2 separate regions of the Homo sapiens genome follow, and region 1 is linked to region 2. The links are contacts of gene promoters, found by promoter capture Hi-C in human tissues and cell types (Jung and others, 2019). All regions are on one chromosome and are shown on one strand. The core of a region is centred on a gene start or on the middle of the fragment in contact, and the rest is flanking DNA. Distances in the headings are between cores, read along the strand shown. Region 1 has its middle 110 kb from the start of UPP2. Region 2 holds the start of ACVR1 (activin A receptor type 1).

Region 1 (2,700 bases), core at 172-2,671, 120 kb before region 2:
TGCAATCTTAAAATGGGAGTGATGTGAGTGTGGCATTATTCTCAAGATTGCTGTGAGGATTAAAAGAGAGAGCATTCTATTAGGTGCATACCATAGTGCCTGGCTCAGGGAGACTGTTCATCTTCTCTATGTTGTATACTGCAGTTAGAGTTTGATATAGTTTGAATATTTGTCCCCTCCAAATCTCATACTGAAATTTGATCCCCAATGTTGGAGGTGGGGCCTAGAGAGAGGTGTTGGGGTCATGAGGATGAATCCCTCACAAATGGCTTGGTGCCATTCTTGCGGGATTGAGTGAGTTCTCACTCTTAGTTCCTGTTAGATCTGTTAAAGAGTCTGACACCTCCCTCCCCACCCCTCTTCCTCTCTCTCTCATTCTCTCTCTCTGTTCTTTCCCTTTACCATGTGATGCCTGCTCTCCTCTGCCTTCCACCATGAGTGGAAGCTCCATGAAGCCCTCACCAGAAGCAGACGCTGGTGTCATGGTCATACAGCCTGCAGAGCCATGAGCCAGATAAACCTCTTACTTTTACAAATTACCCAGACTCAGGTATTCTTTTATAGCAACATGAAACAGTCTAAGAAAGAGTTCATATTCTAAAGTGCAAACTTGAAAGTTTGATATGGTTTGGCTCTGTGTCCCCATCCAAATCTCATGTTGAATTGTGACCCTATGTGTTGGAGGTAGGGCCTGGTGGGAGGTGATTGGATCATAGGGGTGGTTTCTGATGGTTTGGCACCATCCCCCTAGTACTGTCTCATGATAGAGTTCTCAAAAGATCTGGTTGTTTGAAAGTGTGTAGCACTTCCCCCTTTGCTCTCTCTCCATCTCCTGCTCCGCCATGATGAATATATGCTTGGTTCTGCTTCATCTTCCGCCATAATTTTAAGTTTCCTGAGGCCCCGCAGCCATGCTGCCTATACAGCCTGCAGAACTATGAGTATATTAAATCTCTTTTCTTCATAAATTAGCCAGTCTCAGGTAGTTCTTTATAACAGTGTAAGAACAGACTTAATAGAGGGTTTCTCCCTGATTTAAGATTATTTTTGGTTATCCATTATCTACGAAACAAAATGAAAATGCACATTATGACATATAAGGACCTTAACTATTCAGGTTTTATCAATCTCTCTAAAACTTGCCACCTACCACTCTCACATATGTTCAAAGTATAATTTGTATTTATTTTCACTTTTCCTTAAGAACCAGTAAATATAATAGGCATAGATGACAAATAATAAATTAGCATGTGCCAGGCACTGTGCTAATCATTCTGTGGGAGGGAATACTCATTCTCCACTCCTGCTGTTTCCTCCCATGAGAGAGAGCTGCATGAGCTGTAACATTCCTGGATACTTCCACCTCCTCATTTATCCTCCCCTGGCAAGGATAAGTTGAGAGAATCTGGGTATTTGTATTCCAGCCTCTTTCTCTTTTGGTAGCAACTCTCACAGGGAGCATGATTTTAGGCAAGCTGTAAGCATAGTGGCAAAGACCTTTTCCCGGTGGAACGACCCATTGTCCAGGACTACCTGATACCAGTTGGTGAGCCTGTCTATTTCTGGTATTCAGCGTCAGGAAGCCTAAGTTCTCCAGTGTCAGCTTTATCAATGATAATGGTCTCCTGCCTGCGTTACTCTTGTCTGTTTCTAAATTGGTTCAGAACTTGGGTGGGGAAAATGGGTATTATTTACTGAGGATACGTAAGTATCCCAACAAAGTCTACATTCATTGTCTCCTTTATACCTCAGAGCTACCATATGAGGTAAGCATATCTATCATCCAATTTTTATAGATAAGGAAAGTAAGGATTAGCAATCAAGTAAGTGGCATAATCAAGATCTAAACAGTTCTATCTGATGCCACAGATTATGCCCTTACATTTTCCCATTTTGTTTTTGCATGAAGGTTTAATAATAAACTGATAAGAACATTCAAAATTTGAGTTCATGTTGAAAAAAAAAAAGCTAACACAGTATTATATGCAGTGTACTTATATTCTATCTGGCAGAAAAGTTAGCCAAGCTAAACTTAAATTCAGCACATGCTGAATTTTATTTTAGGGAGAACAAGCTGCAATCATAATAAAGAACTGTATTTACAGCTAACAGCAATACCCACGTTTCTCTATAGGTCTTACACTACAATCTGAAATTGCATTTCATGATTTACAAGGTCTGAGACATAAACAGTAAAAGGTATGTTTCTGGGAATTTTCTCATTAACAGCCACAAAACAAGCAATTTTATGTGGAATTGCTTTGTTCACCTTTTCTGAAATATGTGCAAGATCTCTCTTTGATGTTGAATCCATTCTGATTTGAACATCTCAATATTTTTGATGTTCCATGAACTCCTCCACACCCCACCTATCTCCGGGAAGCTCAGACCTCCCTACCTACTTGGTGAAAAGAAGGAAATTTAGAACATTTGAGCTCGCAGGCTGCCTACTTAAGACTACCCGAAGAATGAGCTCTGCTTACCCCTGTTCCTTCGTAGGTACATGAATGAGTCGTCAAAAATTCACTAATAGTTGATTAATGCAGTTGTGACAGTATGAAAAACAACAAAAGGAGTGCAGTGCTGAAGAAATTCTAGATCTTGCAGATTTAATGCATCCACTTATATCCATAACTCAATCCCTTTTCATATGACACTAGTTATTGTTGTTACTGTCTTCCATAACCATTCCTACCACGA
Region 2 (2,854 bases), core at 267-2,766:
AAAGGTTACCAAGAAGGGCCAGTTTGTACAATGAGGACTCCATGAATGTACATCATTGAGCTTCACAAGCTTTCACGTTTGTAATCTCATTTGAACTGCACAACCACCTCACGAGACAACCTGTATTCCCTTCTTAGGTTAAAAATGTGCCCCAGTTCAAAACAGTTTGTAAGTGGCAGAGCTGACACTTCAGCCAAGTGACAATGAGGGCCCTGTTACATCATTCTATAGAGCAGGGATACATATAGGTGCTCTTGCCTTGATTGGTACTGAACTTGCCTCTCCTGCTCCTCACCAATCATACAGGTACAAAGCTCTCTTTATGAAAAAAATGCTCCCACCTACTCCATCCTTTTGCTTACAGCTGGGGATTCTAGTTTTTTCACGTATATATGCCTTGTATTTCTAATTAGATTGTAAACTCCCAACCTGCAGGGACCAGATCTTCCATTTCCTTTGCAACCTTTTGCAGTACTGCAGTCACCCAATAAATGCCCTCTGCATGAATGAACCTGTAGAGATAAAAATACTTTATGGCATTCCCATTTATAGGTTTCATGTTTTTATTCTGCTTTGTGATAGGACTGTACATTATAAGCTTCTAGAGGGCAGAGAAAATGGCTTAGTGCTTTCCTTTACACTCAGCAGGAACCATGCAAAATTTGATCCTTGCATGCCTTTTTGATGCTCTGGGTAATATTAGCACACTGGGGTGTTTTTGTGTATCTAAGGACCGAGGTTATCAGACTCTCTGCAGCGGAGAATGTTCCTGCATTTCCACTGTAAGCTCCCATGGCGCCTAGGACAGGGCTAGATCACTGCAGAAGCCCCTCCATGCTTATTTCTGTTACTAAGGAAGCCAAAGGCGAACATGGCAAGCTCTGTCATAACCCTAGACCTTGCAAGGAAATGAGCAAAGTGGAAGGGGATCTGAAGGCAGGTCAGAGATGGCCTGGATGAGAATGCTAAGGCTTCTCTCTGAGAATCCAGCCCAAGTCTGACATGCAGGGCTCGAGTAGGTGGCCGCCCGCAGTCGCCGGGCCCGGGATGCCCGCCCGTCCGCCCGCCTGCCCCGCGCGCCCTCGGGAGCTGTCCAGACGGCCCCGCCCGCGCCTACCTGGGCACTCACCCGTGCCGCGCGGCCTCTTCTCCTCCCACCCCGGCCACAGGAGCCCAGCTCGGGCCTGCCCCGCCGCCTCCGAGGAGCCCCGCTGGCGGCGCGCTCATAGCTTCCACCCGGGCCAAGCGACCGGCCAGACAGCGCCAGGCGCGCCGGGGGCGGCGCGGTCAGGCTCGGCGGGGCTCGGCGGGCTCGCCCTCGGCCGGGCGCCTGCAGGGGGCGCGGGGACGGCCCCGCCCCGCCGCCTCCTCTCTCCCCTCCCGGCTCCCTGGATCCGCGCCGGGAGGAAATGATGTGTTGCTGCCTGGTTAATCACAGCTCCAGACACTCATTGGCCGAGCGCTCCGCAGCCACTTCCTCCTCCTCCTCCTCCCGCTCCTCCCGCTCCGGCTCCTGCTCTTTGCAGCCGCCGCCGCCGCCGCAGCCTCCCCCTCGGCGCAGGGGGAACTTTTCTACTCTCTGTGACGGTCTCCCCCGCCGCCCCCGGGGGCAAGCCCAGCTGGTCCGCCCGCCCCGCCCGCGGTCGTGCTCCCAGCCCGAGCCTCTGCGCCTCGGGAAGTTTATTCTGCCCGCCCTCCTCCCCTTCCTCCTCCTCTTCACCCCGCCTCCCCGCCCTCCCCCGGCTCTTTCCCCCGGGTGGCTGCCGCTGCCGCCGCTGCCGCTGCCAGCCTGCTCCTCGGCCAGCCGCGCCGGCCCCAGGGCCGGGAAGCTCCCGGCCCCACGCACCGCTCCGCTGCAGCCACCGCAGCCGCCGCCGCTCTGGGCCGGCCCTCGGCCCCCGGCTCCCGGCCCCGCAGAGTTCCGGGCTCCCTCGCCGGCTGCACCGCCCCGCCCCGCCCCGCGCCGCCCCGCGCCGCGCCGACCTGCAGCGCCCGGCTGCCTCGCACTCCGCCTCCCCCGGCTCAGCCCCCGGCCGCGGCGGGACCCGAGGTGAGCGCAGGTCGCCGGCCGCGCCTGCTGGAGCCGGGAGGACTGAGGGAGGAGGTAGCCTAGCGGGAGAAGAGGCAGGGATCGGGGGTGGCAGGGTGGGCGTCTGCGGTGCCTCCCCCTCGCTTTCATTCCTTTCTCCCCCAAGCTTGATCCCCTCTCCGTGGGGGAAGCAGCCGCGGAACAAAACTGTCTTGCTTTGGGCCTGAACTGCTGGTGGGATATGGGGGGTGGGGGGGCAGAGGCGTGGAGCGGGGGTCTCAGGTTTGTATTGGGGTGTGTGTGAGTGCGTGTGTGTGTGTGTGTGTGTTGTGAACTCCTTCAGGGTGTGCGACTCTGACTTGTAAATCGATCTGGCCGCGGGGCCACGGGGCTTACCTTCCTAGCTGAGCTTGTAGAGAGTAAGGAGATAGATAGGCGAATTTCCCCCACCCTCAAAATATCCATCTCTTCCAAGAGGAATTTTCTGCTGGAGAGACAGCCAATAAACTCTGCTCAACTCCCTCCCTCCCTCGGTTCTTCCTAGCTGCAGTTTCAAAAAGCTTCAAAGCCAGGAATGTGGGATTCATCTTCCGATCCCCAGAAGGCAAATGTGGTTACAGATGTTGCACGGTACTTTGCCAAGTTTAAAACCCTTCCTTCAACACTGTAACCAAAACAGTGAGGCTAGAACCTCGGGCGCACTAAGAAGAGATGTGGGCCTCTGGGGCCGCTGGATTCAGTAACTTCCGTCGGGTTCTAGACTGGCTCGGCTCTGTCCAGTTTGTGCCAGATAGTCTCCCACCCCCTCCCCACCCCTCCTTTCCC

Evidence for each region. The method cuts DNA at HindIII sites, captures the fragments that hold promoters and counts their contacts. A contact is called where the count stands out against the background at its distance.
Region 1: a contact is called between a fragment that was not itself captured here and the fragment with the promoter of ACVR1 in region 2, in 2 of the 25 tissues and cell types used here (dorsolateral prefrontal cortex and neural progenitor cells).

Annotation. Positions count from the first base shown.
Region 1 is chr2:157,991,969-157,994,668 of GRCh38, reverse strand. No RefSeq gene overlaps it. Among named protein-coding and RNA genes, the nearest start is that of UPP2, 110 kb to the left of the region's middle. The HindIII fragment of the contact is 8,976 bases long and covers 1-2,700 here.
Region 2 is chr2:157,874,992-157,877,845 of GRCh38, reverse strand. It overlaps ACVR1 (activin A receptor type 1), which reads left to right and starts at 1,516. Exons shown (of 11, transcript NM_001111067.4): 1 at 1,516-2,050. It overlaps LOC105373714 (a long non-coding RNA gene), which reads right to left and starts at 1,262. Exons shown (of 2, transcript XR_923518.3): 1 at 1,130-1,262. RefSeq lists silencers at 955-1,144, 1,165-1,404, 1,465-1,684, 1,695-1,744, 1,835-2,044 and an enhancer at 1,275-1,569. The HindIII fragment of the contact is 2,058 bases long and covers 335-2,392 here.